Regions from separate parts of the Homo sapiens genome. Here all the other regions are linked to region 3. Evidence: promoter capture Hi-C in 16 types of primary human blood cells and fetal thymus (Javierre and others, 2016). All regions are on one chromosome and are shown on one strand. Each heading gives the region's core, a stretch centred on a gene start or on the middle of the fragment in contact. The rest is flanking DNA. Distances are from core to core; before and after follow the strand shown.

Region 1 (3,491 bases), core at 547-3,046, 770 kb after region 3:
CAAATAATTTATGGCTAAGTCCTCAAAAGCAACTGCAACACAACCAAAAATTGATGATTGGGACCTAATTAAACTAAAGAGCTTTTGCACAGCAAAAGAAACTATCAACAGATTTAACTACCTACCTACAGAATGGGAGAAAATATTCTTAAACTATGTATCCAACAGAGGTCTAATATCCAGACTCTATATCGAACTTAAATCAACAAGCAAAAAACAACCCCATTTAAAAATGGGCAAAGGACATGAACGGACACTTCTCAAAAGAAGACATACAGGCAGCCAACAAACATGAAACAATCTCAACATCATTCATCATTAGAGAAATGCAAATCAAAACCACAACAAGATACCATCTCACAACAGCCAGAATGTCAACTACTAAAACGTCAAAATGTAACACATGCTGGTGAGGCTGTGGAGAAAAGGGAATACTTATACACTGTTAGTGGGAATGTAAATGGGTCCAGCTGTGGTGGAGAGCAGTTGATTTCTCAGAGAACTTAAAACAGAACTACCATTCGACCCAGCAATCCCATTACTGGGTATATACCCAAAGGAAAATAAATCATTCTACCACAAAGATACAGGTACTTGTATGTTTATCCAGCACTATTCACAATAGCAAAGACATGGAATCAACCTAGATGCCTACCAACAGTAGACTGGATAAAGAAAATGTGGTACATATATACCATTGAATACTATGCAGCCATAAAAATTATGAAATCATGTCCCTGCAGCAACATGGAGGCAGCTGAAGGCCATCATCCTAAGCGAATTAACACAGGAACAGAAAACCAAATACCGTATGTTCTCACTTGTAAGTGGAAGCTAATACTGAGTACACATGGACATAAAGATGGGAACAATGGACACTGGGGACTGCTGAAGTGGGTAGGGAGTGAGCACAGTGAGGGCTGAGGGACTGCCTGTTGGGTGTTGTGCTCACTGCCTGTGTGACAGGATCCTCCATACACCAAATCTCATCATCACCCAGTGTTCCCATGTGACAGACCTGCACGTGTACCCCCTGAATCAGAAAAGTTGAAATTATTTTTTTAAAAAAGAATTACTGTCTTGTATTAAGCCATAACTATGTTTTATAGGATATTATTTGGTCCAATAGCACTGCCAAATTATTCAGGAAGCTTTGCTAAAATGAGATGGTTATGGTATTACTTGTAGTTCATTTTTAAACACAGCATTAAACGTTTTCTTACCTTGTTACTGCACCAGAGAATATCCTTTCAATAATCCTGCTTGATGAAGCTAAATGTAGATAAAAAAAAAATTGCAAAGCTAGTTAGAAACATGCTCCATAAAGGCAATACTTTTCACAAATTTGCTTTTCACTAGCTACAAGCTAAACCGTAACCATCGTCCATGATGAGAATGTGAGTACATTTTTATTTACGCATAATTTTAATATAATTTTAAAAAATAACAGGCAAATGAATGTGGCTGACATCTGGGAAGTATTAATATAGTTGAATGCTAAGTTAGGTCTGAACATCCTGACAGCTAGGACAAAAATATATAGGATTTGTTTTGATCTTATCCAATGAGACCAATTTTCCTATAAACAAGACAAGTTTTATCCTTAAATTCAAGGGAGAACTGATTGTGTAAGCTCCTAAAACAATGTAAAATAAAACAAAACGAAGTTAAAACAATGGAGAATGCTTTCAAGTAGTTTTTTTAAAAGCTACTCAAACACACTACAAACATACTTTTCTTATATTCCCATTTTATAAAAGCCCAGGGTTTAACATGATATAACATAAGATTTTTAGAAATTCCATCAGGAAGTTTTATTCACATAGATAATCGTGGCTTAAGTTAGCATGTTGGTGAGAGAGAGAGAGAGAGAGAGAGAGAGAGAGAGAGAGAGAGAGAGAGAGAGAGACACGACTAGAGACCTGTTCTTTCATTTATTTATTTATTTTTGAGACAGAGTTTTGCTCCTGTTGCCCAGGCTGGAGTGCAATGGCGTGATCTCGGCTCACTGCAACCTCCGCCTCCCGGATTCAAGTGATTCTCCTGCCTCAGCTTCCCAAGTAGCTGGGATTACAGGCATGCGCCACCATACCTGGCTAATTTTTTTGTATTTTTATTAGCGATGGGGTTTCTCCATGTTGGGCAGGCTGGTCTTGAACTCACAACCTCAGGTGATCTGCCCACCTCAGCCTCCCAAAGTGCTAGGAATACAGGCGTGAGCCACCATGCCCAGCCTGTTCTTTAACAGATGCCCCAGGCAATGGCATGCACACTAAAATTTCAGGATCATCAATAAGGTCATTAGGGACTTAGCAGCTATCAGCATCGAATTCTTCTGCACATAGTTAGGTACAGTTAGCATAAAGGTAAATTGGTTTGGCCAAAGAAAGTTGGGAATATGTGTATTGGAACAGCCGTGCCTGGCCACACACCAAAGCTTATATAAAGACCTTCTATATTTTGCTGAACATTGGTTTATGGGGTTAATTTGTACTAGATAGAAAAAAAGAGGGCTATATAGGAAAGGCAAGGATATTTAATTGTAAAGCCAAAATCTTTTTTTAAAGGCATTTTTTAGCTTGGGAAGGTTTAGCTTCCTAAAATTGAAGATCATGTTATTCTATGTTGTCTCATTAGGGACAGTCTGGTGAGTGGATAATTATGGAGTATTCAGTGGCCCCTTCTCGCTCTGTCGCCCAGGCTGGAGTACAGTGGTGTGATCTCGGCTTACTGCAACCTCTGCCTCCTGGGTTCAAGCGGTTCTCCTGCCTCAGCCTCCCGAGTAGCTAGGATTACAGGCACGCACCACCACACCCGGCTAATTTTTGTATTTTTAGTAGAGATGGGGTTTCACCATGTTGTTCAGGCTGGTCTTGAACTCCTGACCTAGTAATCCACCTGCCTTGGCCTCCCAAAGTGCTGGGATTACAGGCGTGAGCCACCGCGCCTGGCCAACTTTATTTCTTAAATACGCAAAGCTCTATGAAACCTGACATCATATACAACAAACCTTTTTTTTTTTCTTTGAGACAGGGTCTCCCTGTCGCTCAGGCTGGAGTGTAGCAGCACCATCATGGCTCACTGCATCCTCAACTTCCCCAGGTTCAGGAGATCCTCCCATCTCAGCCTCCTGAGTAGCTGGGACTACAGGCATGTGCTACCACATCTGACTAATATTTGTATTTTTGTCATTTGAAAGACATTTTTTAATTTTTAATTTTTGTATTTTTTGTAGAGACAGGGTTTCACCATGTTGCCCAGGCTGGTCTCGAACTCTTGGGTTCAAGTGATCCACTCGCTTTGGCCTCCCAAAGTGCTGGTATTGCAGGCATGAGCCACTGCCCCCTGCCTGATGAGCCTTTTCTTAAGATGCATACCATTAGTAACAGCCATACCAAAAAACAAAAACAAAATTCAATGCATTTATTTAAGATTCATACTCTGCTATATCTAATAAGCTAAAGTATCATTTAAAAATCAACAGTGCCTGA
Region 2 (3,535 bases), core at 390-2,889, 730 kb after region 3:
AAAAAAAAAAAAAAAAAAATTCAATATTTCTCTAGTTTGGAGTCTATAATGCTTCAGAAATACAAGTGTGTGATTTATCTTTATACTTTTAAGTTAAAAATAGATATCCTAAGCCACTTATATAAAATGGATTAGCTGAAATTTTGGAAGTTGGATATTTGGTTCACTGAATTTCCTTAACCCATCCAGTGACCAGAAAATCTTTAGTTTCAACTCTTGTTGAAGTTTCCTAATATGTACCACTTGCTTTCCTGTCCCAGGAAGTAGATTTCACTTCAGTTTTGATGGTTAAAGGAACTCTTGCAGTTCTTCAGAATCATGAGCTATCAACTGTTAATTCTTACTCATTGTGGATGTAGACAGCATAAAAATGTGGGCTAAATATATTCTAATTATGAACTGGAAGGACGCGGTCTGAATTCATGTTTATTACCAAGCACAGTGCCTGGCATAGAGTAGGTACCAGTAAATATCTGTTGAAATAAATTAAAATTGGGCTTTGATATGGTTCGTTCAATGTGGAAAAAAATAAAACATTAACTTCAGGCCCACGTAGAGGCTCTGTTTATTAAGCATTAAAAAATAATTCTAAACTCATATATCTGTAATATTATAACTCATGTTTTAGAATATTAATTCATGTCATTCCTTCTTTTTCTTTCCCTATACCCTAATATATACACACAAGCCTCCATTCTCCCTGTTTCCCTGTTCCTCTCCTACATTCTCCCACCTCACTGAGGAGAGTTGGGCTTCATACTTCTCACTAGTTACATTCCTGGACGATTGCTCTAATGGGTTTCTGGCTGGCTTTCTTTACCTATAGTGCCTTAGTTTCCAGTGCTGATGGATGTAAATGTAGATCTCTGACAGAGGCCGGGCGCGGTGGCTCACGCCTGTAATCCCAGCACTTTGGGAGGCCCAGGTGGGCGGATCACGAGGTCAGGAGATCGAGATCGTCCTGGCTAACACGGTGAAACCCCGTCTCTACTAAAAATACAAAAAATTAGCCGGGTGTGCTTGCAGGCGCCTGTAGTCCCAGCTACTCGGTAGGCTGAGCCAGGAGAATGGCCTGAACCTGGGAGGCGGAGCTTGCAGTGAGCGGAGATCGCGCTACTGCACTCCAGCCTAGGCGACAGAGCGAGCCTCCATCTCAAAAAAAAAAAAAAAAAAAAAAAAATCTCTGACAGAGTAATTCATATATTTTTAATATAAAGGAAAAAGCTGCCTTTAAAAACATTCAATAGAAAACAGTTCTAATCTGCCCAAATGTCCAATAATAGGGAAATGGATGTGAGTTACTGCTTGAGAACACTGAAGCACTAAAATTCCTGTTTTTGAACACATTAGTAACAAGTGTTAAAAAGAAATATACCAAGTATAAAATAATGGTTATCCCTGGATCATTGAACCAAGAGTGATTTTAATCTCTTTATATTTTCCATTTTTTCAAGTATTAGTCAAATTGGCAGAAAAGCTTGTTTCTGATTATTGAGGGTCTCAGTTTCTTAGGATAGTAACATGGAAGACCCTTTAGCCTTCTTTACATAATTTCTGTGGTGTTTTTAATGTACTCCATTGCATAAACCATAAGAATGTTAATTATAAATATGGTATCATAACCTGTTATCTTCATATAGGTAACACATTTAGTTGACTTGGATTAAGTAACTGGTACCCTGTCTTTCTGGCTTCTCTTACGAGGGTTGAGTTTATATAAATGCTGTTGTATGCTGTGATCACTTTGTGTGCTAGACATGTTAATTTGCAATGTTTACAGCCTCATACTTACGGAAGCTTTGGTCTTGCTTCACCTCACTGAGACCTGCAGTGATTACGAGGTTACTTACTGAAGACATTACATAAGTACCAGTCTTGAAATCAGGAGGTACAGATGCTTAGCACAATGGCTACCTGTGATTGTTGTTAGATGGTAAAGTAGGTGGAGGATTTTAAGTTGTTTTTGGAGGGCCAAATCATCTGGACTACTGTAGATATCCTTGTAGTGAGGGTGGCTGCTGTATTGCTGTGGTCTGTGCCTTTCAGTAAACATTTGCTGAGGACCTCCTACGTAACAGTTTGCCAGGTGCTGGGACTACAAGACTAAGAAAACGTTCTTGGCCCCTGAGGAGCTCACAATCTAATGGTAAAACAAATAGCTCCATTTTTTTTTAGCATTAATATACCAGACACTGTTAGATTCATTATATACATTATCTCTTAATTCTCAGTACAATCCTGCTGTTCATGCAACAGATATTTACTGTGTCAAGCAGTAAAATGTGCCCTAGGAGTGAAGGGAACAAGATAAGGGATAGAATGCTAATGTTACAGCTGAATAAACTCTACTTCAGAGAGGTTAGGTAATGTGATCACAAAAGTGGTAGCAATAAATAGCCATTGTTTATTGATTACACAGACACTATGCCTAAGGGCCTTATATTATATACACTGTCTTATTTAATCCTTAAAACAGCTCAGTGTGCCAAGTCGTACCCTTATTTTTATAGAGGATGCTGAGGCTTGGATGCCTGAGATTACACAGCTTGTGTGATAAAGCAAGGATTTGAAGTTAGGTTCGTCTAACTTCAAATTTCATGCTCTTAACCATGATGTTTTTTATATATATATATATATATAATTTTTTTTTTTTTTTTTTTTTTTTTTTTGAGACGGAGTCTTGCTCTGTTGCCCAGGCTGGAGTGCAATGGCATGATCACAGCTCACTGCAACCTCCACCTCCTTCCTAGGTTCATTCAAATGATCCTCCCGCCCCAGCCTCCCAAGTAGCTGGGATTATAGGCACACATCACCACGCCCAGCTAACTTTTAGTAGAGATGGGGTTTTGCCATGTTGGCCAGGCAGGTCTCGAACTCCTGGCCTCATCTGCCTGCCTCGGCCTCCCAAAGTGTTGAGATTACAGGCGTGAGCCACTGCAGTGGGCCCATGATGTTACATTGTATTTCTCCTATATGGAGTAGTAATAGCTACTATTTATCATGAGCCATGTGCCAGGTGTTTACATATAATATCTTAGATTCTCACAACCACCTCAGGAAGTGGATGCTGATGCCTTCTGAAACTGAGCCTCAGGAGTCAAGTAACCTGCCCAGCTGGTGAGTGGACCAGATCTGTCTGGCTCCTAAGCCTCTGGTCTTTCTGTGGTACTAACATTCCTCCCTTTCTGATACCTGAGTCTGGCAATTTCTGTTTGACAATTAGACTCTCCCTGACATATCTGTGATTCTTTCTTGAGATGAAACCCTAGTTGATTTAGCCTTGGGAATTTAGGTCTGGCCTTGCTTTTGCACGAGTTGGTCAGTTGTTATTCCTGTAAACGGGCTTTTTCCTTTCCTTTCCTTTGTTCACATTCTAGTGCTTGCTCTATAGACTGTGGCTGTTGTAAGCCTCCTTGCCCCTTGGGACCTCATAACCCACATGTGTTCTGTGTAGGCCTTATCTTATCTCCCACAACAGAAGTGGGGTATCCAGCAAGCAGCAAGAGCCTCTCATATACAACGGTTGAATTTCACT
Region 3 (3,754 bases), core at 462-2,961:
CGTGTCTGCTAGGGTGGTTTCAATCTCCTGACCTCGTGATCCGCCCGCCTCAGCCTCCCAAAGTGCTGGGATTACAGGTTTGAGCTACCCCGCCTGGACTCCCTCAGTATCGAACAAAACATTACACGTAGGTTTCAAATTTTATTTAGATGGACCTGAAAGCACTGTCAAAACCTGGACAAAAGATAATGCCTAGAAAAATAAGTACACATTTTAAAATTTAATACATGAGCCAACAGCTGAGTAGATGTGAACACTCTGCAAACTATGTTTATGGATATTACAGCCAATTTCCACAGATCACAATTTTCCCAAAGAAGTCTCAGAGTTTGTGGTCAAGATGAAAAGAAAGCACCATTTATCAACCAGTGCATATTACTATCAAGTTGTGAATGGGATGCCTATTTAAGAATATCACAGACTCCACCCCCCACAAGAAAATTAAGTGTTTTAAAAAGAAAAGAACGAATATTATTGACAATTACCAAACAAAACTTTCTTCTTAGGTTATTTCTCCGTTTACTGTGTGACCTCGCCGAAGGCTGAGAGTCTAGGCACACTGGTTTCCAGGTGCTGAAGAAATCGTTATAGTTGGTTTGTCATACGTCTATCAAAGTAAAATTTTAAAAATGAGTACCTTTTGGCAACACCCGTTTTGGGAGGACATTGAGCTGCTTTGCTCCCTACCCAAAGAGGAGTTAGGAAATTCTCTTTAACCTAATTCTTTCCTAATTTCTAGGGCTTCTTACCTAATCTAACGTGCATAATTATTTTCAGGTGACTCCGGGTCCATCAGTTTGACACCGAGAGCGTTCCTACGGTTACGTCCTCACCCCTGAACAAAACCCAGCTTCCTGAGCTTCTAACGGCGAATTTAACTTGTATGTTAATACAGAAGAAAGGTTACAAAACCTATCGAAATGGTTTTTTGTTTTACCAAACATATTACAACTCAAGTCAAAAGTTCACAGCCCCAGCAACTCGCGTACGAATCTGAAGCAGGTCCAGACCATTAAAGTCACAGCCCCAGACTAGAAAACGGCCGGTGGGTGGGGGGAGGGGAGAGGGCGCGTCCCGAAGATGTCCACCCGCAGCACCGCGCAGGCTGACGCCTCCCCTCCTCTCGGGCTGGAGGTGAGAGCGCCCTTCCTCCTACCACGTCCCTACCTTCCCGGCCTCGGATTACGCCACAGCTGGCAAAAGGACTTTTTCATGAGAAAACAGACAAGTCAACCAGCGCGCCGCACACTCGACCTCCCAGGCTCGCACGGGCGGCCGCCCGGGCTCTCAGCCCGACACAGCGCTCCAGGGGCTGACAAGGAGGCCGCGGGGTCACGCTCCCTGGGGCAACGGCCCGAGGGTCTCGCGGAATCCCGGTGCAGAAGTCTGGACCCTCCGAGCAGCCTCCGCGCCCCCTCCGGCTCGGCTCCGAGCCTGCAGACGGCGCCCCCGGGGCTAACTCAGCGCGAGAAGAGGAAGCGACGCAGCGAGTAACAGGCTGTATGGACGGACAGCGGACTGAAGGGGGGTGTGTGTGTGTCTGCCTGCCAACAAGGCCGTCTCACCTTCCCGCTGCCGAGCCGGGCAGCTCCAGCTCACCTGAGGAGGGCTCCAGGACGCCACTGCGGCCGCCGTGATGGCCGTAACGGCACGAGGCCTGCGCTCCGCCGCCGCCGCGTAGCTCTTGGGAGAGAGGCGGGGCACGCGCGGTGGGCAGGCGGATCCGCGCGGGCAGGAAACCCACTCTGGACCCAATCTGATAGGTTCAGTCGCCCCCTTCCCCGGTCCCTGACGCGACAACGGTCTCTGCCGCACTGGGATTGGGCGGGCCCTCATGTCAATCAAGCGCCGTGCCTGATGTGGAGGGAGCGGAGGCTGCGCGGCGGAGAGTAGAGAGCTAGAGGGTGAGAAGCGCTGGGCCGGACCAGAACTGTCTTAGCTTTTCCCTCTGCGGCTGCTCTGGTTGGTTACTTTGAGCCTGCCTCCTCAGCGCCGCAGGAGAGACTTAACAGCAAAAATGACTGTGTCCTGAGTTCAGCCCCCACTGCTCTGGGAGCTTCCCCCTGGTTTCTGCACCTGAAGAATGTCATCCCAGCCGAAGGTTCTTAGGAGCGGGGAGCGACAAAGAAAAACAAAGAAAAGCAGACCTGAAAATTGGGACCTGGGAGAAATGTAAGACATGTGCTTAATTTGAGGCACAGACCAAAAGAAGCTGAGTCTGAGGGCCCTCTAAAAGTGTCCTCGTGCTTGGGCAGCTTACATTCTTGGCGGCAGTAGTGTTATGAAGAGGACCTTCGGAGCCAGGTCTGTCCATTCTTAGGGCTCCAGCCACTGGCTGAGGCATCAGTAAGTTGGTTCTTCCCCTCGCCGGTGCTGCAGGCCCCCTTCCCCGCCCCCGCGCCGTAACCTGCCTCTTTTTTTTTTTTTTTTGAAACGAGTTTCGCTCTGTCGCCAGGGTGGAGTGCAGTGGCACGATCTCGGCTCACTGCAACCTCCGCCTCCGGGTTCAAGCTATTCTCCTGCCTCAGCCTCCCGAGTAGCTGGGATTACAGGCATGTACCACCACGCCCAGCTAATGTTTTTGTATTTTTAGCAGTGACGGGGTTTCACCAGGATGGTCTCGATCTCTTGACCTCGTGATTCGCCAGCCTCGGCCTCCCAAAGTGCTGGGATTACAGGCGTGAGCCACCACGCCCAGCCGCCTCATCTCTTCTTAACCATCTTTGTGGCACAGTTTAGGATCGCTCCTCAGGGAAGCTTGCTCAGTTAGGTACCTTCCTTGGAGCACAGGTGTTTTCTCCATCCGAGCTATTGAAATGGTTTGCCTGTATGTCTACCTAGATTGTAAACTCCGTTGAATCAGTAACCATGTCTGTTCAGTTTCTCCCTAGGGCCTTGCAGTAGGGTAGATGGTCAGTAAATACTGTTTAAGGCATTAATACTTTTTATTTTAATCCTGGCCCTGGATATCAGCCTCAAAAGTTTGCAGTTTTCTGCATTTAACTTCAAAATTATTTACGTGATTGGTAATGCATGCATGTGGTTGGCCTGTGCTGTAATTTAGATGTTTGTTCCCCTAAACCTCCTGTTGAAATTTGATCCCCAATGTTGGAGGTGGGGACTAATGGGCAGTGTTGGGTCATGGAGGTGGTTCCTTCAGGAATAGATTAATGTCCTCCCTGGGGAGAGGGTAAATGAGTTCTCTTTATTTCCACCAGAGCTGGTTAAAAAGAACGTCGCACTTCCTTTCTTCTTTTGCGTCCTCTCTGGCCATGTAATCTCTGCACACACCAGCTCTCCTTTGCCTTCTGGCATGAGTAGAAGCAGTCTTAGGCTACCATCAGATGCAGATGCTCAGTCTTGAACTTTTCCAGACATCAGAACCATAAGCCGAAAAACCTTTTCTATTTCTAAATTATCCAGCTTTGGGTATTCCTTTCTAGCAACACTAAAGGGACTAAGACAGCCTGCCATATGTAGGATCACAAGGTCAAGCACAAATTTACCTATTTATGCTGTACTATCCTCAGGTTGACTGGGACAAGTAGACCATGAAACTGGGCAACAGCTACTCTATGTCTACATTCTGTTATTAGCATCCAAAGTGAATAATGGCGGTGAATTTTGAGTTTATTCTAAGGGTTTAAATAACTGCATATTTTATCATGACTGGTATGGACTGAATTGCATCCCCCCCAAAAATTCATACTGAAGCCCTCACTCCTAATGTGACTATATAAATGTTCCTTAACTT
Region 4 (3,755 bases), core at 617-3,116, 620 kb after region 3:
TTCCACTTAGATTTATACATTAGCCACAGGCAGTGGCACACACCTCTAGTCCCAGCTACTGGAGAGGCCGAGGGTCGTGTGAGCCCAGGAGTTTGAGGCTGCAGTGTGTTATGATTATGCCTATGAACTCCAGCCTGAGCAACTTAGAGAGACCTTGTCTCAAAACAAAAACAAAAACAAAACAACACAAAACAAAAAATTTATCCCTGGTAATAGAATTGGGATGTACATTTTGAGAATTGTGGTATGCTAGGTTCACCTGGCTGGAACGGTGGAAGATACGAAAAGGGATATAAATTCAAAGAGCCCCTGAACTCACAAGAACAGCTCCAGTCTTGTCTTCTGAATATACTGACTCTAACACCGTGAGGATGCCCTTTCCTATTTCAACCAAAACAGCCTTAGTGATTCTCTCCCTTCTGGATACTGATACTGGGTTACAGGTAAGTCAAAGTGCAGCCAGGATACAAGAAATACTCTTTCTTTTTCCTTTATTCTCCATCCTCGCTTTTCCTATCCCTCTTCCAGCTGCTTAGAAAATTCTAAGGCAAGAGTCATGGCACTAGATTAAGAAATGTTTGTTTTAATTAGTGGCCTCTCTTCTTCTTTTTCTTTTATAATTCCTCCTGCATTTCTAAAAGACTATATGAGTTATGATACTTTCACAATTATTTTTATTATAATGGGTGATTTTGAGCTTTTGGTATGAATTATGCTGTTCTAAAGCAATTGAGGTTAACATCTAGAAACTGGAAACAAATTAGCTATTCATATATGACTCCCCATGAGATTATAAGCTTATTTTGGATAAGGACTCTATCATTTTTATTTCTGTGTTTCCAGTACCCAGTGGTTCCAGATACATGGGGTATTCAGTCATTGAAAGAACTTTCTCTCTTGCTACTCTAGTTTCTCTGTGAAGAGGGGATTATCTGACGCTCAGCTCCATTACTAGAGCCAGCTTCTTTCCCATGAACCATGGGAAACCTATCTAGTTTCCTACGGGTGGTGTTGACATTTAAGATATACTCACTGGGGAACATCAAAAGTAATAAAGATTGCCACCACACCCAGCCCTTTGCATTCTTTTGACCATGTCTTTTAATACACAAACTTTTAAATAAAATAGGTTTTATCTTCCTACCTGACATATGTATTTTCAAGGCTGGGTGCGGTGGCTCATGCCTGTTATTCCAGCACTTTCGGAGGCAGACGGATCATTTGAGATCAGGTGTTCAAGACCAGCCTAGCCAACACGGTGAAACTCCGTCTCTACTAAAAGTACAAAAATTAACTGGGCATGGTGGTACGCGCCTGTAATCCCAGCTACTCAGAAGGCTGAGGCAGAATGGCTTGAGCTGGGAGGTAGAGATTGCAGTGAGCCAAGATTACGCCACTGCACTCCAACCTGGGAGACAGAGCAAGACTCCGTCTCAAAAAAAAAAAAAAAAGTAATAAAGATCATTACTTTTTATTAGGATATGGTTCTTCCCATCCAACTCGCTCAAAATTTCAACCCTATGATTGATGTAAGTGTGATCCTGAGTGAATGAGAGAAAGAGGGAAGGTTGGGAAGAAGCATTCTTAGACTGCAGTGCAGTCTAAGGAAAGTCAGCAAGAGAACTAAATGAAGCGGTGCCACCACTGTACCTTCTGCAGTTACCCTTAGTTTGTTGTTTTGGAAAGACAGACAGAAGCAGGGGAGGGAAGGAAAAGAAAAAGTGAAAAGAAAAACAATATTGTTTGAAGGCTTAGAAAACAGCTGCAACAACAGAACTTTCCTTATAACCCCTTTTGTATGTAAGAAAGGATTAAGTAAATATTGATGCATTCCTCACTTCCAGAACAATTTATAGGCTAGAAAGGGCGCTGGAGAGGATTGCCCTCATTATGAGCTAGTGAAGGGTTTCTGGTAGGATGGAAAGCATGCTTTGGTGCTGTAAAACTGGATTCCAAATGATACTAACAAGCAGTGTAACTAGGCAAATCAGTTCATCTCTTTCAGCTACAGTTTTTTCACTTATAAAATCATGATAATAATATTGACCCTATAGAATAGTTGGAGGGATTAAATTAAGTGAGAAAACATATGTAGAGTACACGGTATGCAATAGATGTTTAATAAGTAAAAATCCCGGCAGGGCGCAGTGGCTCACGCCTGTAATCCTAGCACTTTGGGAGGCCAAGGCGGGTGGATTGCCTGAGCTCAGGAGTTCGAGACCAGCCTGGGCAATATGGTGAAACCCTATCTCTACTAAAATAAAAATAAAAATAAAAATAAAAAACTAGCTGGGAGTGGTGGCATATGCCTGTAGTCCCAGCTACTCGGGAGGCTGAGGCAGGAGAATTGCTTGAACCCGGGAGGCGGAGGTTGCAGTGGGCTGAGATGGTGCCACTGCACTCCAGCCTGGCAACAGAACAAGACTCCGTCTCAAAAAAAAAAAAAAAAAAGTGATAATCCCACTCTAGTTTGGAAAGAGAATCCAGAATAGATGGGAAAGACAATGTACATGAGAACTGATCCTGGATACCTAAAGAAGAAAATGAATTATTGGAAGGAAGGAATTATCAAGGGGGATAGAAAAGAGTCAAAAAGCAAGATAATCTAGAAGCAGAAAAACACAGCTAAGCTCATGCCACAAGAACAGTGGACATTGACCTAGATACCACTATTGACAGACCTTGCTGTGACTGCTTCTGGATTTGCAAGGCCACTGTGAATAGTTTTCATACTATTGCGTATCTTTGCATAGTGGGCTCCCCCACTTATAATATTGAGTGGGAACATCAAATTGGCAGAGACTGAGTAACATGCTCACACCCCAGCATGAGAAAGATCTTAGAAAAGGACAAATGATCTCTATATTGCTTAAAATAATGCTAGCAACTGTAACAAACCCCAAGGTTTAAGTTACTTAACATAATAGAAGCTTGTTGTTTACCCTGACATTCTAGTGTAGCTATTCTTCCACACGGTGGGCAGCTTTCCCCCTTGCGGTGATTTAAGGACCCAGGCTTCTTCTGTCTTGTGGGTTCATCATCCCTAGATTTGTCTGTATTCAACTGGAGAATGGGGAAGAAGACAAGTGGAAGGGAAGCCCTGTTTATTAAAGACCCCACCTCCACCTGGACGCAAGGGCAAGGATGACAATGTACTCCCTGGCTGGCCAGCCACTTTCCAGTAGCAACTCCACACAGCAGAAGAAGGATTACAAATTTTTAGTTGACAGTTATCTATGTATGCCACACCCTCTACTGGGCCAATGTATATGGGAAAAAGTATGAAGTGGGGCAAGGTACTGAGGATTAAAGGACCCTGGGAAAGTGGAGAACGGTTTTGAGTAGTTGATTTGGGGAATGGGAAAAGAGATAGTACACTGGGAAGTTTAAGTGGAAAATATCAATTCTGGGCCACAGGATTGTCTAAACAGCACAGCGTTTGTGACGACTTCTTTCCTAGGATGGTTGAACTAAGCTCCTTTTATGTATAGCACTGCGTGACATGTAGGGGTTGGCCAGGATGATATAATGGTGACTATCTCCAGGAGCCTTCTAAACAAATGGGAAAGATGTATACATAGAAAGATAAATTTTATTTTCTAGGTAGCATTTGGGAAGTGTCAAGTAAGTGGTCGGGGGAAGTGCTCTAAGAGTTCAAAGTAGGAGTTTATCACTGACATGTTGGGGCTTAGAGTAGGTGCTTAGTCCAGGTCTGCCAAGAAGCTGATGCCAAGACAGGATCACATGTGGAAGAA
Region 5 (3,448 bases), core at 730-3,229, 680 kb after region 3:
ATGTAGGATTAGTGGGAGCCCTGAGCGTGTTTTCCACAAGGGTCCCATCTGGGGGTGATGGGAGACAGTGACAGATCATCAAGCATTATTTCTTAATGAGTGTGCAGCCTAGATGCCTTGCTTGCACAATTCACAATAGTGTTTGTGCTCCTATGAGAGTCTAATGCCACTGCAGATCTGACAGGCAGAGCTCAGGTGGTAATGCGAGCAGTGGGGAGTGGCTGTGAAGCTTTGCTTGCTGGACCCAGTTCACTTCCTGCTCACTTCCTGCTGTGCAGCCTGGTTCCTAACAGGCCAAGGACCGGAGCCTGTCCATAACCTGGAGGCTTAGGGACCCCTGATTAGAAGAATAGAGGAGGATATGCTTAGGTTATGTGCAAATACTATGTTGTGTTATATCAAGGACTTCAGTATCTGCAGATTTTGGTATTCAAGCGAGATGCTTGAACCAATCACCCATGGATATCTAGGGACAGTTATACAATGGTGTTGAAGAACTGACAAAACCTGGCAGTTTGACACAGACATATGGGAAAAATTGAAGGAGTCAAAAGGTCACTTAGTTCATATCAGAAATGAAGTAAGGAAGGATGTTGATTTTTGGGGAACCTGAAGAGTTGAGGTAGTCTAGGTTTGAAGTAATGTAAGGATAGCCTAGTTAAAGAATTCTTCAGGGATTTTTAGCGATATGGTTGTGGTAATTGAGCTAAATATTCTGCAAAACAGCCATGCTGTTGTTTTGACAACCTCTTTTAGAACAATTTTTTTTTTTGGCTTCCATTTTCCCCAAGTTACCTTGTCTGTATGTAATTGTCTCCATTGATTTTAGTTTTGTCTTCTGGAATAATTCAGAAAGCCTTTGATAAAATTTTGCCCTTCAGCGTTGGAAGACAGCTTTGTCATTCCTGAGGAGTTGGGTCCTGGCCAGGCGTGGTGGCTCACGCCTGTAATCCCAGCACTTTGGGAGGCCGAGGCAGGTGGATCATCTGAGGTCAGGAGTTTGAGACCAGCCTGGCCAACATGGTGAAACCCTGTCTCTACTAAAAATACAAAAATTAGCCGGGCGTGGTGGTGCGCACAGGAGAATTGCTTGAACCCAGGAGGCGAAGGTTGCATTGAGCCAAGATTGCACCACTGCACTCCAGCCTGGGCGACAGTGAGACTCTGTCCCTTCCCCCACCCCCCCCTCCAAAAAAAAAGAAAAAAAGAGTTGTGTCCCAAGTTATTCTGGTAGCATCCTTGTTTTAGTTTCCTCTAAAAGGGTGATTTTTGTGTCCATATCTATAGTATTTTAGATAAGGTTAGATGAAGTTATCTTCTATGATGACTTGAATGATTTTTCTGTTTCATTTGTAAGATGAGGTTGTTGGATTAAAGCATAACTTTTGCTATGAATTTGATTTCCAGACTTTTTTTTTTTTTTTTTAGCTTTGTTAAAAATTTGCTGAATTGGGCTGAGCACAGTGGCTCATGCCTGTAATCCCAGCACTTCAGGAGGCTAGGGCTGGCGGATCCTTTGAGGTCAGGAGTTTGAGATCAGCCTAGCCAACATGGTGAAACCTTGTCTCTATTAAAAATACAAAAAATAAGCCGGGTGTGGTGGCGCATGCCTGTAATCACAGCTACTTGGGAGGCTGAGGCAGGAGAATTGCCTGAACCTGGGAGGTGGAGGTTGCAGTGAACTGAGATCCTGCCACTGTACTCCAGCCTGGGCTACAGAGCAAGACTCAGTCTCAAAAAAAAATGAGTTGGTGGTTACTGTTTCCAAACCTAGACCTCACATAAAAATCCAAATTTTTAGGCACTTCCTGGAAAAGTATGAGGTTTTGCAACAGTGGAAGCATTGAATTGGAAGCATTCCATTATTGGCTAGCATCATTGGCTAGATTTGAGAGATTGGCTTTTTTCTTTGGTGGTAGGAGTATGTCCTCCTCAGTTTGTCCTTGGTCACACGTGACCTTTGTCCCCCCCCCCCCCTTTTTTTTTTTTTAACCTTTATCTAACTTGCTCCTGTAAGAATTCGGGTTTGTAATTCTCAGGAATGAAGGATTTATCCAGGCCCCTTCTTGTACGCTGGAGGTTGTTCAGAACCATGGAATTCTTTTTTTTGTTTGTTTGTTTTTTTGAGACGGAGTCTCGCTCTGTCGTCCAGGCTGGAGTGCAATGGTGGGATCTCGGCTCGCTGCAACCTCCGCCTCCTGGGTTCAAGGGATTCTCCCACCTCAGCCTCTGGAGTAGCTGGGATTACAGGCTCCTGCCATCATGCCCAGCTCATTTTTTTTTGTGTTTTTATAGAGACGGGTTTCACCATGTTGGCCAGGCTGGTCTTGAACTCCTGACCTCAGGTGATCTGCCTGCCTTGGCCTCCCAAAGTGCTGGGATTACAGACATGAGCTACTGTGCCCAGCCCAGAACCATAGAATTCTTTTTTTCAGACGGAGTCTCACTCTGTCGTTCAGGTTAAAGTGCAGTGGCACCATCTGGGTTCACTGCACCCTCCGCCTCCCGGGTTCGAGCAATTCTCCTGCCTCAGCCTCCCGAGTAGCTGGGACTACAGGCGCCCACCGTCAACGCCCGGCTAATTTTTTGTATTTTTAGTAGAGACGGGGTTTCACCGTGTTAGCCAGGATGGTCTCTATCTCCTGACTTCGTGATCCGCCCGCCTTTGCCTCCCAAAGTGCTGCGATTACAGGCATGAGCCACCACGCCTGGCCAGGACCATAGAATTCTAATGATGTGATCTTCAATTATTTTGTGAAATCTTATTACCTGGATAAGAGTCAGGATTGCTTTATCTTGTTTGGCAGTTAGAGAACAGTTGTTGATTCACAATATTTCTGGTCAGTTAAAACATTTTCACAGGTTAGTCGATAGTATTGTTCATTATTTTCTCTGTTCTTACAGACTCTTAGTAGTTTTGTCAGTTATTGAGTTGAAATCTGAACTATATGTGTTTTCAGTTTCTCTTCAGAGTTTTATCATAAGTTTTTGCTGCATGTATTTTGAAGCTCTGTTGGTAGGTTTATGAAACCTTTTGGAACTTATGGAATATAGTTAAAATAACTACCATTTTAATAACTTTGATTTTTCTAGCCTGGGCAACATGGCAAAACCCTGCCTCTACAACAAATACAAAAATTAGCTGGACATGGTTGGTGCGTGCCTGTAGTCACAGACCCTTGGGAGGCTGAGGTGGGAGGATTGCTTGAGCCCAGGAGGCAGAGGTTGCAGTGATCGAGGTCGTGCCACTGCACTCCAGCCTGGGTGGCAGAGTGAGACCTTGTCTCAAAAAAAAACCAAAAAACAAAACTTTCATTTTAAAAATTTTTCATAGAGGTGGGGCCTCCCTGTGTTTCCCAGACTGGTCTTGAACTCTTGGCCTCAAGTATTTTTCTCCTCCTACCTTGGCCTCCCAAAGTGCTGGGGTTACAGGAGTGAGCCACCGCAT
Region 6 (3,589 bases), core at 695-3,194, 660 kb after region 3:
ATCTTTTTTTTTTTTTTTTTGAGACAGAGTCTCGCTCTGTCACCCAGGCTGGAGTACAGTGGCACGATCTTGGCTCACTGCAACCTCCATCTCTCGGGTTCACGCCATTCTCCTGCCTCAGCCTCCCGAGTAGCTGGGACTACAGGCTCCTGCCACCACGCCTGGCTAATTTTTTTTTTGTATTTTTAGTAGAGATGGGGTTTCACCGTGTTAGCCAGGATGGTTTCAATCTCCTGACCTCGTGATCCGCCCGTCTTGGCCCCCAAAATGCTGGGATTACACGCATGAGTAATCTTTTTTAATGTCCTTAATCAACTCCCTCTCCCTTTCACAGAGCAGCAATTCCAAACTTTCATCACTTACTTGATGGACTCTTCCTCACTACCTTCTCTAATAGTGAAATGTTAAAACAGTCAGATTTGGGGCTACTTCAGTCCTACCTGCTTAACTCAACCTGCTTGATCAGAGGACTATCTTAAACATGTAGTGCAGAGCCCAGGTGAGGAAGGTGATGACCATGAAACTATGCAACCTGCAGGTAGTACCATATGCTATGTAGAACAGGTGGGAGTTGTGTATGAAAACTGTCCTAAGACAGAGAGGGATTCTTAGATAATGGAGAAATAGCCCCCAGGGGAAAATGGGCTGTATTCCAAAAATTCAATTTTAAATTGACTGTTTGGAATGCAGAACACATTTTCCCTTAGAAACAATGCCATGAATAATTGCAGTTATTTTTCTCAGGAAAGTCCACACAAGCTTGTTTAACTCATAATGTAACAGCCATATCTGCTAAGACATTTTAGATTTGCGTCAAGTAGATCCCTAAATCCTTACTACTCTGAATTATAAATTAGCCGTGTACATAGCTGCCACCCCAACTAGACTGTGAACTCTTTGAGGGCTAGAAACTGTTGAATTATTCATTTTTGTATTCTGAATGCCTGGCATATAACTGGCAATAAACGTTGGTTGCATAAATGAATGGACAAATTTAATAGGCATTTGAATACTGTTGAAAGTGTCTTGGGGAATAAAAACAGTAACATTTAGTGGATCCCTTAATGCGTTTGGCACTGTCTTAGGTAGATGACCAATAAAGCAAGCTGCTTTGTTAAGGCTGGAGTTAGAGATGAAGAAGATAAAAAAAAAATTTAATATTTGAGGTGTAAAATAAATGAGTGCTTGACTTGCTAAATACATGTTTTTGGATTAAATCAATGGAGAGATACATTGATTTGGAAAATGTTATGGAAAAAATATCAGCAGGAATTGCTTGGAGGGGGAAGGGAGGTGGTTCTTGGGAGCTCTAGGACTGAGGAGGGGAGAGCTATGACCACAGCTAAGAGCAGAGGATGGAAGAGGAAGTTTGGTAATGGTCAGAAAGGAATGATCAGGAAAGAACAGAAGTATCAGTCTGAATTACAGCCTAGTTTAATTTCATCTGGTTTACTGCTCCCTATAAAGAAGTACTACCCTGGCCAATCTCTGAAGATTTTTCATGAGTTTAGATTATGCTATTTTTACTTTCCCATAGATTGTGTTTAATTAGATTTATTGGTTTCCACAATGACAGTAGATTAAGCATTTGTGGCTTTTGTTTTTGAGACAGGGTCTCACTCTGTCACCTGGGTTGGCGTATAGTGGTGACATCTCAGCTCACTGCAACCTCCTCCTCCCAGGCTCAAGCAATCATCCCACCTCAGCCTCCTAGGTAGCTGGGACCACAGGTGTGCACCAGCACACCCAGCTAATTTTTTTGTATTTTTGGTGGAGACGGGGTTTTGCCATGTTGCCCAGACTGGTCTCGAACTCCTGAGCTCAGGTGATCCACCCACCTTGGCCTCCCAAAGTGCTAGGATTACAGGCATAAGCCATGGTGCCCGGCCAGGCATTTGTTAAAATCTGGTAGGGATGTGTATAATGGTGAAAACGATGGGATAGAAATAATAAGCAATGAGGGAGAATGCAACTTGAGAAAGTGGGAGAGGGAACATCATCTCTACAGAGAGTTTTTGGTGGAGGAAGATAAAGGAGGGGACAGAGGAAGGAGGGTGAAAGAGGAAGGGAAAGGAAGACAAAAATTAGCTATTTTGTAAACAATCTAACCCGTCAGAAAGTCTCTCTGACTGCTTGCCTGATCTTTGTTCTTTGAAAACATAACTACAACTATTTCTGTATTTACTTCATTGTCTCCAAAGTGCTAGAGTGCATACAATAAATACTTGATGATTGATATTCTGAGTGTTTCAAATCAATTCACACTTTTGGTTTTATTAAGGACCTTATAATTAACATTGATTTGATCAAGCTGAAACAAGAACTGGCTTCAAATTTGTAAGGCATTTTATATCTCTCCCCAAGGAAAAAGCAAACAATTTTCCATGCCTATTAGGTACTACACACTATACTAGTGAATTTACTTATATTGTCACATTAATCATTATTTTAACAATTATTGAATTCCTATTATATGTCAGACCTTATGCTAAGCAATGAGGATAAGAGGCAAAGAGGGAGAAAACTGACCTCCTAAGAGTTATAGAAATATAATGGGGAGGAAACAGGGCTAAACCAACAACTGCAGCATAGTGTGGTAGTGCAACAAAAGAGGTAAACACGCTTTTTATCAACTTGGACCTGGCAGAATGGCTTCCACAAAGAAGGGTGGCGAGAAGAAAAAAGGCCGTTCTGCTATCAACGAGGTAGTGACCCGAGCATACACCATCAACATTCACAACCACATCTATGGAGCGGGCTTCCAGAAGTGTGCCCCTAGGGCACTCAAAGAGATTCGGAAATGTGCCATGAAGGAGATGGGAACTCCAGATGTGCACATTGATACCAGGCTCAACAAAGCTGTCTGGGCCAAAGGAACAAGGAATGTTCCATACTGAATCTGTGTGCTGTTGTCCAGAAAACGTAATGAGGATGAAGATTCACCAAATAATTTCTATACTTTGGTTACCTATATACCTGTTACCACCTTCAAAAATCTGTAGACTCAACGTGGATGAGAACTAATCGCTGATCGTCAAATACATCGAATAAAATTATAAAACTGCCTTCAAAAAAGAAAAGAAAGAGGTAAGCACTTGGCAATATTGGAGAATAGAAGAGGGAAGCTTTAATTCAAAATGGGTATACAGACAATAAGAAAAACAAGTATTTTCCACAATCCCACTATCCAGAAAAAAATAATATTTTGGTGTATGTCTTTATAGTCATCTTTTTACCATGCATGGATATTTAGTTTTTCCAAAATTGTTCTGTTAATCAGGGTTTAAAAAAATTAATATATTATGAATATCTTCCCCTGTCAATAAATACATTTTTATATCATTTTAATTTTTTACATCATTCCTAATAGCTATATAATATTCTACTATGTAGATATATCCATAATATAGGTTGTTTTCAATCTGGAAATTTGGATTGGTTCTTTTTAAAATAGTATAAACAACTGCAATGATTATTATATAAAAATCTCTGGCCAGGCGCTGTGCTCACGCCTGTAATCCCAGCACTTTGGGAGGCTGAGGCGGGCAGATGACGAGGTCAGGAGATTGAGACTATCCTGGCTAACACG

Evidence for each region. The method cuts DNA at HindIII sites, captures the fragments that hold promoters and counts their contacts. A CHiCAGO score of 5 or more calls a contact.
Region 1: a fragment that was not itself captured here is called in contact with the fragment with the promoter of NCK1 in region 3 in 1 of 17 cell types (fetal thymus); the score reaches 5.9 in fetal thymus.
Region 2: a fragment that was not itself captured here is called in contact with the fragment with the promoter of NCK1 in region 3 in 1 of 17 cell types (fetal thymus); the score reaches 5.4 in fetal thymus.
Region 4: a fragment that was not itself captured here is called in contact with the fragment with the promoter of NCK1 in region 3 in 1 of 17 cell types (naive CD4 T cells); the score reaches 5.1 in naive CD4 T cells.
Region 5: a contact is called between a fragment that was not itself captured here and the fragment with the promoter of NCK1 in region 3, in 1 of 17 cell types (total CD4 T cells). The highest score is 5.5, in total CD4 T cells.
Region 6: a contact is called between a fragment that was not itself captured here and the fragment with the promoter of NCK1 in region 3, in 1 of 17 cell types (total CD4 T cells). The highest score is 5.3, in total CD4 T cells.

Annotation. Positions count from the first base shown.
Region 1 is chr3:136,085,664-136,089,154 of GRCh38, reverse strand. It overlaps PPP2R3A (protein phosphatase 2 regulatory subunit B''alpha), which reads right to left. Exons shown (of 14, transcript NM_002718.5): 9 at 1,224-1,272. Among named protein-coding and RNA genes, the nearest start is that of MSL2, 110 kb to the left of the region's middle. The HindIII fragment of the contact is 1,286 bases long and covers 1,154-2,439 here.
Region 2 is chr3:136,135,180-136,138,714 of GRCh38, reverse strand. The region is part of intron 13 of PPP2R3A (protein phosphatase 2 regulatory subunit B''alpha); the gene reads right to left. Among named protein-coding and RNA genes, the nearest start is that of MSL2, 59 kb to the left of the region's middle. The HindIII fragment of the contact is 320 bases long and covers 1,480-1,799 here.
Region 3 is chr3:136,860,165-136,863,918 of GRCh38, reverse strand. It overlaps NCK1 (NCK adaptor protein 1), which reads right to left and starts at 1,711. Exons shown (of 4, transcript NM_001291999.2): 1 at 1,566-1,711. NCK1-DT (NCK1 divergent transcript) reads left to right here and starts at 1,856. Exons shown (of 3, transcript NR_110177.1): 1 at 1,856-2,172. RefSeq lists enhancers at 843-962, 973-1,052, 2,113-2,172, 2,733-2,782 and a silencer at 1,693-1,752. The HindIII fragment of the contact is 9,923 bases long and covers 1-2,759 here.
Region 4 is chr3:136,237,375-136,241,129 of GRCh38, reverse strand. No RefSeq gene overlaps it. Among named protein-coding and RNA genes, the nearest start is that of PCCB, 11 kb to the left of the region's middle. The HindIII fragment of the contact is 2,133 bases long and covers 800-2,932 here.
Region 5 is chr3:136,183,280-136,186,727 of GRCh38, reverse strand. The region is part of intron 1 of MSL2 (MSL complex subunit 2); the gene reads left to right. Among named protein-coding and RNA genes, the nearest start is that of MSL2, 11 kb to the left of the region's middle. The HindIII fragment of the contact is 3,496 bases long and covers 232-3,448 here.
Region 6 is chr3:136,204,975-136,208,563 of GRCh38, reverse strand. It overlaps the pseudogene RPL31P23. Among named protein-coding and RNA genes, the nearest start is that of MSL2, 10 kb to the right of the region's middle. The HindIII fragment of the contact is 2,366 bases long and covers 762-3,127 here.